3 separate regions of the Homo sapiens genome follow, and all the other regions are linked to region 3. The links are contacts of gene promoters, found by promoter capture Hi-C in blood cells and fetal thymus (Javierre and others, 2016). All regions are on one chromosome and are shown on one strand. Each heading gives the region's core, a stretch centred on a gene start or on the middle of the fragment in contact. The rest is flanking DNA. Distances are from core to core; before and after follow the strand shown. Region 1 overlaps CD81-AS1 (CD81 antisense RNA 1). Region 2 overlaps C11orf21 (chromosome 11 open reading frame 21). Region 3 holds the start of PHLDA2 (pleckstrin homology like domain family A member 2).

The links. The method cuts DNA at HindIII sites, captures the fragments that hold promoters and counts their contacts. A CHiCAGO score of 5 or more calls a contact.
Region 1: a contact is called between a fragment that was not itself captured here and the fragment with the promoter of PHLDA2 in region 3, in 4 of 17 cell types (total CD8 T cells, non-activated CD4 T cells, naive CD8 T cells and 1 more). The highest score is 6.7, in total CD8 T cells.
Region 2: a contact is called between a fragment that was not itself captured here and the fragment with the promoter of PHLDA2 in region 3, in 2 of 17 cell types (naive CD4 T cells and naive CD8 T cells). The highest score is 5.7, in naive CD4 T cells.

Annotation. Positions count from the first base shown.
Region 1 is chr11:2,365,266-2,368,720 of GRCh38, reverse strand. All of the region lies in intron 1 of CD81-AS1 (CD81 antisense RNA 1), which reads left to right. Among named protein-coding and RNA genes, the nearest start is that of CD81, 10 kb to the left of the region's middle. The HindIII fragment of the contact is 225 bases long and covers 1,721-1,945 here.
Region 2 is chr11:2,295,934-2,298,433 of GRCh38, reverse strand. C11orf21 (chromosome 11 open reading frame 21) reads left to right here. Exons shown (of 4, transcript NM_001329958.2): 4 at 513-2,500. Among named protein-coding and RNA genes, the nearest start is that of C11orf21, 4.7 kb to the left of the region's middle. The HindIII fragment of the contact is 2,527 bases long and covers 1-2,500 here.
Region 3 is chr11:2,928,170-2,931,672 of GRCh38, reverse strand. PHLDA2 (pleckstrin homology like domain family A member 2) reads left to right here and starts at 2,253. Exons shown (of 2, transcript NM_003311.4): 1 at 2,253-2,777; 2 at 3,006-3,400. The coding sequence starts at 2,309. The coding sequence ends at 2,767. RefSeq lists enhancers at 1,149-1,757, 1,758-2,367, 2,368-2,976. The HindIII fragment of the contact is 14,179 bases long and covers 1-3,503 here.

The DNA of each region.
Region 1 (3,455 bases), core at 584-3,083, 560 kb after region 3:
ACACACTGTTATCATCATGAGGACTCCTGGGTATGAGAAGGGCTGGTGAGGCTCTGATACCATCTCCTCCTCAGGATCCCTGGCAGGCAGCAGAATCCAGAAATCCGGGCTGAGCTGAGCAGGGGGAGTGTGGTTGGGGCCTCCCGGGTGGGCCCAGGAGGCTGGTGGCTATACTCTGTGACTCTGTGGGCCTGGCTTGAGGGGGAAGACAGTGAATAGTCTGCCTATTTACTGTCTCCAGCTGGGGCTCCCCTTTGCTGATGGGGTCCCCTCTCCAGGGTGTCTCCCCTCCACTGAGGGTCTCCTCTCCCTGGACCAAGTGACCCCTGTCTGCATTTGCAGGTTGGGGACAGGTGGGGCTGGCTGGCACCTGTCATTGATTTATTAATAAATCAATAATTTTGGGGGTGGCTGCCTGCTGGAGGTGGGATGGGTGGTGGAGGAGTCACCTTCACTCTTGTCTAAACCCATGAGTTTTTGTTCAACACTGGGATGGGGAAAGCAGCTTGTTAGGACCCTGTTCCCTGAGGAGGGATGGGTGAGGCTGTTGGGGTGAGGCTGTCTGTCAGCCGTGACCAGAGCTGGCTGAGCTACCCTAGGCTTCATGTCCCCAGGTGCAGCATAGCCATGGGACGCCCAGGGGCCTCTGATCCCCTTCCTACAAGCTGTGTGTAGTTTAAAGGGGCTGGGAGTGCAGAAGAGGACGCGGGCCTGCTTTTCCACACTGGCTCCGTTCCCTTCGTGCGGGTGCCAGCCAGGCCCGGCCTTTTCTGGCCAGGGTCACCGTGTCCTGGACCCAGCCCTGACCCCTCCATTCCCTACCGTGTTGTCACCATCCCCTGTGAGGAGGGACCCCTGAGGCCTCTTTCTCCCGCTCTAGAGGCTCTTCCGGACCCCTGATCCTCACAGCCTGGGCCTCCCCAGAGGCTTCTGGGGCCACTGGTTCCCCGTACAAGCTGATACCAGCCGTTAATGACATTGCCTTGTTTACTTCAGCATGAGCTGGGCCACAGAGGGGAAGCTGTGTTGCTGAAGGGGACTCTGAAGATTACCATTGGAGGGGCTGCCTGGCTGAGACCTGAATAAGTGAGCAGTGCCCAAGAACAGAAAGGGGAGGTTGTCAGATGCTGGCCAGCACTGCCTAGCCCCAACCTGCAGACACAGATAGGGCGGAGGGGTCACCCAACCCAGGAAGGGGAGCTCATCTATGGAGGGGAGCCCCCCTGGAGTAGGGACCCCATCAGAGGACCCCGTCAGCAGAGGGGAGCCCACCCGGAGAGGGGACCCTATCAACAGAGAGGAGACCTAGCTGGAGAGGGGACCCTGTCAGCAGAGAGCAGCCTCACCTGGAGAAGGGACTTCATCAGCCAAGGGAGCCCCAGATGGAAAGGAGACCCTGTCAGTGGAGAGGAGCCCCAGCTGAAGAGGGGACCCCATCAGTGGAGGGAGCCCAAGCTGAAGAGGGGACCACATCAGTGGAGGGAGCCCCAGCTGGAGAGGGGACCCCATCAGTGGAGAGAGCCACAGCTGTAGAGGGAACCCCATCAGTGGAGGGAGCCCCAGCTGGAGAGGGGACCCCATCAGCAGAGGGAAGCCACAGCTGGAGAGGGGAACCCATCAGCAGAGGGGAGCCCACAGGGGTATCCAGAGGGAAGGCCAGGTTGGGTATCCTGGGAGTGGGAAGTTGGGTCAGAGGTGAGGCTTTTGCAGCGAGCAAGCTTGTTTCAGGTTGGGAGTGCCCAGCGGGCAGTGGGGGTTGGTGGACGCAGCAGGGAGGAAGTTCCAGGGTCTTTGACAGCGGCTGCTCCCCACTGCAGAGCTGACAATCTCTTGAGGACTCCAAGAATGAACGGATGGCCAAGCCTGGGCCTCCAGTGGGAACAGCGCCACCGTGGAAGAGGAGGGAGGTTGTCCTCATGTAGGGGGCAGGCTGGAGAGACAAGCTTGGGGTGGATGATGGTTTGCTTCTTAGGTGAAGGAAAATGAAGAGCCACCTGCAGCCATCGCTCTGCTCTCCAAATCAATCCTGAATAACTGGGAGAGAAAAACTTAAAAATGAGACCAGTGAATGGAATGGGAGGTGGGATGGGGATGTGGCAGAAGAGGGGGCCGCCCCACTCCTGTTGGACGTGGGGGCACTGGGAGCCACATGCATGCCAGGGACGCCCAGCCCCTGGCCCTGGGCCAGCCTCACTGGCAGTGGCTGGGGACAGTGGGTCTCTGTGCCTCCTCCTCGTCTCTGCGGTCCCTGGCTGGGTGCCCACCCTCTCCCTCATCTCGCCGTCTGCCTTCCTTTCATTTCTTTTTGGCATGGTTCTCTCACTGTCCAGGAAGGAACTTGGCGTCTTGCACCCCAGGCGGGCAGAGCCAGGAGCCCAGCTGACCCAGAAGGGCTCGGGTGGAGTGGGTGGGTGGTGGGAAAGCAGCTGGAGCCCCCGAATGCAGAGCCTGCCCCGTCTGCCGTGCCTGGAGGGCACCCCTCACTCCTCAGGCTCTCCAGAAGGTCAGCTATGGGGGCAGGGTCTGGGCCCATTCTGGACCCTGCTGTATCCCAGGGACCATTTAAATGGGGGCCTGGCACAGACTAGGGGTTCAGTTGTTAAATGAATAAGCAAAGCTCAAAGCCCCCTATGTTCCTTGCCTGAGCCAAGAAGGAAGCCTGGGCCTGGCTTCTGAGTCCACCCACCCTCCTTGTGAGGTAGGAAGGCAGTGGCATTGCATAACTGACCACCTACAGGACCGGGCCACGCCGAGAGGGAGCAGGCGCCTTGATGCTCCTAGATCGTCGGCCAGACTCCCCCTCCCCAGTCCTTGGAGCCTCCTTGCTTCTTCAACCCCTGTCAGAGTCCGTGGGGCAAGGTGAGACTGGGAACACTGTCTCCTCCCCCAGACGTGGCTGATCTCAGCCTGGAGCCCCACCCCAGGGCTGCACAGGACCAGGGTCCAGATCATCAGCCCAGGATGCACGGTGGACTATGTGTGCCCAGCACTCGTGCACCGAGAGACCCGTCTTGTTTCCCATGAGCCCCTCGGTGCTGGGTGCCGGGTGAGAGCATAGCCCTGGTGATCCTGGTGGTCTTCTCCAGACTCTGATGTTTCCTTCCAGTCTCCCGGCCCTCCCCTCAATGTGCAGTGTGTGCGGGTTGAGGGGGCTGCTGTGGTCTGAATGTGTCCCCCATCTCTGTAATCATGATGGACTAACATCATTGTCGTGGGAGCGGGCTCTGACAGAAGGATGAGTTTGGTCCCCTTCTCTCTGGCTGTCTCTCTCTCCCTCTCTTTGCCCTTCTGTCATGGGATAAGGCAGCACAAAGACCCTTGCCAGAGGTGGCCTGTCGATCTCGGACCTCCCAGCCTCTAGGACCAGGGGCCAATAAGTTAGCCAGTCTGTGGTTTTCTGTTCTAACAGCACACGATGGACTAAGACCACAGGCCAAGTCTCCCCAGTGTATCAC
Region 2 (2,500 bases), core at 1-2,500, 630 kb after region 3:
TGGTGGTCAGCGTGCTTTATTTAGCCCTTGATGAAGAGACTGTTTCATGACCAGCTGGGGCAGTGAGCTCCTGACACCTTTAAAGGTGCAGTGTTGCCTCTCTCAGGAACCTAGAAGTGAACGCCCATCCCCTTTCAGGCCAGACCCCGATGCTCAAGCGTCAGGGCCCAGGCCCATTGCCAGGCTGCCCTCTCTCTGGGACAGGTGCAGGGACCCTTGGGAGGGGCACAAGGTTGCAGAGGATCTTTGAGCAGCATGAGGAATATGGTGAGAGAAGGCTTTAGGAGGCGGGTTCAGTGTCAGTGTTCGCTATGGACAGAATCGTGTTCCTGCAAAATTCATAGGTTGAAGCCCTGCCCCGCAATGAGATAGTGTTAGGAAGTGGATCTCTGGGAGGTAATTAGGGACAGATGAGGACATGAAGGTCCCTGGTCCCATAGGATTAGTGCCCTTATACCAAGAGACATTTAGGAGCTCCCTCTTCTCTCTCTCTCTCCTTACATGCACTGAAGGACAGCTGTATGAAGACACAGAGAGAAGGCAGCCATCTGTAAGCCAGGAAGAGAGCCCTCACCAAGACTGGAATCAGCAGCACCTTGATATTGGACTTCCAGCCTCCAGAACTGCAAGAAATAAGCACCTGCTGTTTACATGCCCAGCCTGCAGTGCTTCCTTATGGCAGATTGGAGCTAACTGAGACAGCTCCCAGCACTCATTCATTCATTCATTCATTCACTCACCTCATGTCTACTAAACAGCTCTGGGCTGGCTCTGGGAAGCAGTGAGTCACACACACTGCCCCCAGCAACGTGTGAAATATGTTTAGAGACAGTGGGCTACAGCGGAAAGGGTAGATGCCCTGAGAACCCCAGCGGTGCTGGTCAGAAGCACAGGCCTTGTTGGGCTGAGGCTGGCATGGGGTGAACCTGGGGAGCCTCGGGGGCAGAGGTGATAGATGTGGGGTGTTTCAAGGCAGTGAGACAAAGAAGGGAGATGGGTGGTGCCCCCCAATGCCAGGCTTCACCAGCCTCCCAACACACGAGTGTTCACCCGCCTGGATGAGACACCTCTGTGGACTTGGGAGTGAAGGCAGTGAATTTGGGCAATGCTGGAGGCCGTGCAGGTGGGAGGTGGGACAGGGGCAAGAGGCCGGGGCCCAGGCAGGAGCTGACAGCCCACCAGTGGTGCTCCCCTGAGAAGCAACCTCAGTGGGTGGCTTGGGGTCTGCTGGGCTGTCCCCACACTGACACCCTGGCTGCAGGGCCCCCCTGTGTCCCCAGTGAGGGGTCTCGGGAGCTGTGTGTCCTACTCAGGGCCATCCCTGCAGCCCATGCTCTCTGGGTGACCAGTTGCCAGCAGTGTCCCCCCTGCCTTGGGCGGAGGCTGAGGACCCCAGGGTGGGAGGGAAGGTGCGGTGGGGGCTCAGCCAATGCTGCCCAGCCTGAGGGTCCCTCACATGTGGGCCGCACCCCTGCGTCAGCCGGAGTGATCTCTGCTTAGGGTGGTTTGAGGTGAGTTCTGATATCTCAAACACCAGCATCAGGGCCAGGGCAGACAAAATAAGAGTGAGCTGGTCAGGGGTGTCCCAGTTGGGAGCTCGCTCACAGTCTTTAAGGAGGCAGGGCACAGCCCAGTGGGGGTGGCCACGAGGCCCCGGGCCTGTGGCTGAGATGGCAACTGGCACCGGCAGTGATTGGAACAGTCCAGCCCATGGAGCCCTGTGGCCTTGGCCGGTGGCTCACGGTGCCACGGGAGCTGGAGCAATGGGTGGCCTCCCTTGCCTGGTGCCTGAGTGAAGGAGGACTGGGTGCCCCTGAGGAAGGACCTTGCCATACTCCTACAAATTTACATTATTCTTCTTTCCCCAGTCTCCCCTCAGGGACCTGCAGCCATTTGCTGGGGTGGCTAGTGGAAAGGGGGATCATCAGACTCAGGGGGATTACTGGACTCTAACTCTAACCTGACACCCACTCCTGGGGACACAAACACCCATCGGATCTAATAGTCAGAGGAGGGGCGTATGGAGGTCAGTGGGCTCACGGAGTTCTAGCTCAGGTCCAACCCTCGGTGGGTGCAGAGGTCACTTCCCTAGCCTCAGATGGGTGAGTAAACAGACGTATGTGGCAGCCAGCAGAGCCCCCACATTTGTTCCCTGACCTGAGGGTGGGGGCTACTATGCTGGGAAAGGCCAGGTGGAAGCCATTGGGGTGAACTCTGCCTAGGAAAATTGTCAGTCAAAAGCAACCTGCAGCCCTGGAGGGACTGCAAAGGTCAGTGCCGCCATCGAGGACTTGGAAGATGCAGGGTGGTGACCCCCACTGCAGCCTCGTTCCACTCGTCTAATTGGCTTGTGTGGAAGACAGGGGGGTCCCGGAGAAAGAAGGACAGTGAATCCTGGTAAACTTAACCAGGACTCCAATTGCAACTGCTGTTCCAGATATGACTACTGATCACTGGGGCAAATCAAAGCATCCCCGGACACCTGGTCTACAGCCATTGA
Region 3 (3,503 bases), core at 1,004-3,503:
TCCCCAAGGCCCTCTCCATCCTGAACCAGTTTCCTCTTCTGTGGAACAGGGGCTGGAGTGCCCACTTTGGGGAGTTCTCTGGGTTAGGTGGAGGCTGGGCACAGTGGTGGCATACGGGCACCACTGGCCCTTCAAGGTCTCCTTGGAATCTTCGAGGGCACGCCCTCCCCACAGAGTCCTCCAAGCTGTCCTCCTGGCCTCCAGTACCCCCGACCCCTATCCCCATCCTCATGTACCTGCTGTGCCCCTGGGGTTTAGAGGGATTCCTCTCCCCTCCTCTGGGGTCCCAGCACCAGCCAGGCCTGCAGGCACACAGTAGGTGCTTAAGCAACCACGAGTGTCGGGGGATTTGCCTGGAGCCGAAGTTCCACTGGCTGGCCCCTCAATGGGGTAGGCAGGCTGGTGGGCCTGGAGGTGTTCCAGGCACCTGTGGGCTGGCGCAGTGACAGAGCGCTCTGCCCCCGGCCGCTTCTCCTGGTCTCCCACTGCCCAGAGGTGCCTCTTGCCCAGGTCCCACTGTCCGGCAGCCCAGGGCCCTCTGGAAGCAAAAGAAGGGACACCAGAGTCCGAATCCTTCCTGCAGCCTCTCCGGAACAATGCTCGAATCCCCTCTCCCCGCCAAAGGCTGACCTCCCCTCACCCACCCACCCTACCTGCTGCTCCCTCACCACAGGATCCCAGCCCTGCTGCAAGGACAGGTGTCAGGTAGGGGGCAGTGTTGACCCGCCGGCCCCAGGCAGGTGTCTCACTCCCAGGCCAGAACCCTGGCACAGCCCAACCCTGCCCTCTGCCGGCACTGCCCCTCCACACCACATCCCTGCCCACTGCCAGGTCCTCTGGCCACACCGGTGGGACCACCGGGCAGCTGCTACCTGCATGCCATTCACAGAACCGGGTCTGGGGCGCTCCTCTGAGCCGGACGTCTCTTTATCCTTTACAGTGACCCTGAAGGGCAGGTGGAGGTAGGGCTGGTCCCAGGTCTGGGTTTTACGCTCTGCTGCCACTGTCTTGACATTTTAAATACATTTTGAATCAGGGGACTCTCGTTTTCATTTTGCGTGAGCCCCGTCATTGAGGCCAATTCTGACCCCAGAGTTGGGACTTCCTGCTGTAACCACCCCAGGGCGCAGCTAGGGGGCAGGGGTGCGGGAAGGTGGGAGACGTGGAGTAGTAGCCGGGGTCTCTGGGGTCCTCTCGGCCGGCTCCACCCCCACCCCTGGGAACCCGGGAAGAGCCGGCTTTCGCTTCCTGTCTATTAAACCCTTTAAAGGAAGAGGGTAAATAAAACCGCCCGTCTGCCCAGCTGGAAAGCGATGACTCAGCCGCCCCCGCCGACCCTCGCCCCCAGGCTGATCCCAGAGAGCGGGCGTCGCGGCCCAGCCCGAACCCCTCAGCTCCTGGGACCTCTCTCCGGTCCGGGTCGTGGGGGCGCGGTCGGAGCAGTCCGTACCCCAGTTCGGGACACTACGAGGGCGCAGGGAGGAGAACGGGCTTCCTCTTCCCCTTCCATTTTCTGAGCTCTATGGGTTGCTGGTCTAGCCCTTTCCACGTGTTCCCTAATCCAGCAAAGGTTACTGTTCCCATTTCACAGAAGCGAAAACCGAGGCTAAGAGAGGTGGTCGTTCTTGGCGCAGCCCGTGGGTGGCAAGATAGGAGCTCGGTCCGCTAGGGCAGGGCCACTTTCGGAGAGGGTCTCTGGGCGGCCCTGGGAAAGGCCCCCGAACAGGACGGAACGGCCAGGGCTCGGGAGTAAGGAAGGGGGCCTCGACCCTCCTTCTGCCCCGGGAGCCCGAGAGCGGCAGGGCTGGACTTGGGGCGCCTGGAGGGTGAAGGTCTGGTCCCGGCTGTCTCCCCACGGTGGGCCGGCCCCGGGCCCGCGGGTGCTTCCCGGGGCTCCCCGGCGTGAGTCATCGCGGGCAGGGCTGGCTGCAGCGCATTCTTCCGCGGGGCCGGCCTGCGAGACGGTGCGGGCGAGCGCCCGGGCGGGGCGGGACCTCGAGTCACCCCACGGGGCCGGACAGCTGGGGCACGGGGGGCAAGAGGAGCGCGGGCTTCTGAGATGGGAGGGGACGGCCGGGGACCGACCAGAGCGCGGACGCGACGGTGCGGGCCCGGACGGCTGGGCTTGGGGAGGGTATGGCCCGGGGCGCGCGGGGCTCAGGCGGGCGGGGTGGCCCGAGGGCCGGGGCGGGGCGGGGAGGGGCGGGGCGGGGAGGGGCAGCTATAAAGGCCGCGCCGGGGCCACGAGGAGCAGAGCCGGCGCCGTCACCGCCCGCATTGCCGCTCCCAGTCCCGCGCTCGGCACGACATGAAATCCCCCGACGAGGTGCTACGCGAGGGCGAGTTGGAGAAGCGCAGCGACAGCCTCTTCCAGCTATGGAAGAAGAAGCGCGGGGTGCTCACCTCCGACCGCCTGAGCCTGTTCCCCGCCAGCCCCCGCGCGCGCCCCAAGGAGCTGCGCTTCCACTCCATCCTCAAGGTGGACTGCGTGGAGCGCACGGGCAAGTACGTGTACTTCACCATCGTCACCACCGACCACAAGGAGATCGACTTCCGCTGCGCGGGCGAGAGCTGCTGGAACGCGGCCATCGCGCTGGCGCTCATCGATTTCCAGAACCGCCGCGCCCTGCAGGACTTTCGCAGCCGCCAGGAACGCACCGCACCCGCCGCACCCGCCGAGGACGCCGTGGCTGCCGCGGCCGCCGCACCCTCCGAGCCCTCGGAGCCCTCCAGGCCATCCCCGCAGCCCAAACCCCGCACGCCATGAGCCCGCCGCGGTGAGTGACTGCCCGCGTCCCGGCGAGCCCTGCGCCCTAACAGCCGGGACCGGGGCCTTTGGGAAAAACCACTTCAACCCCAGACGGCGGGGCGGGGGCGCTGCACCTCCTTGGGGGACCCGGCGCCCCGCAATCGCGCTGGCCCCCTCGCGTCAGGGTCTCGGGGCCCCTCAGGCTGGACCCGGACCGGCCCTGGCACAGCTCTCTGACCCAGTCCTTTCCCCACAGGGCCATACGCTGGACGAGTCGGACCGAGGCTAGGACGTGGCCGGCGCTCTCCAGCCCTGCAGCAGAAGAACTTCCCGTGCGCGCGGATCCTCGCTCCGTTGCACGGGCGCCTTAAGTTATTGGACTATCTAATATCTATGTATTTATTTCGCTGGTTCTTTGTAGTCACATATTTTATAGTCTTAATATCTTGTTTTTGCATCACTGTGCCCATTGCAAATAAATCACTTGGCCAGTTTGCTTTTCTACCATCCGGCTGTGGCTCAGTGAGACTCCTGCTGGGAGGGTGGAGGCCCAGGAATGGGCGGGCAGGACACCCTCATCCAGTCCTGCGGGGCTGGTGTGAAAGGCGCTGGGAACCGGCTTTGAATGAATAAATGAATCGTGTCATCTGCTGGGCCTGGTCCACACCCTCTTTTCCAAGCAGCCTCCCCAGAGGCCAGGAAGTGCCCTGGGGCTTGACCCTGGCTACCTTCTGCTCCTTGGTGTGTCCTGAGG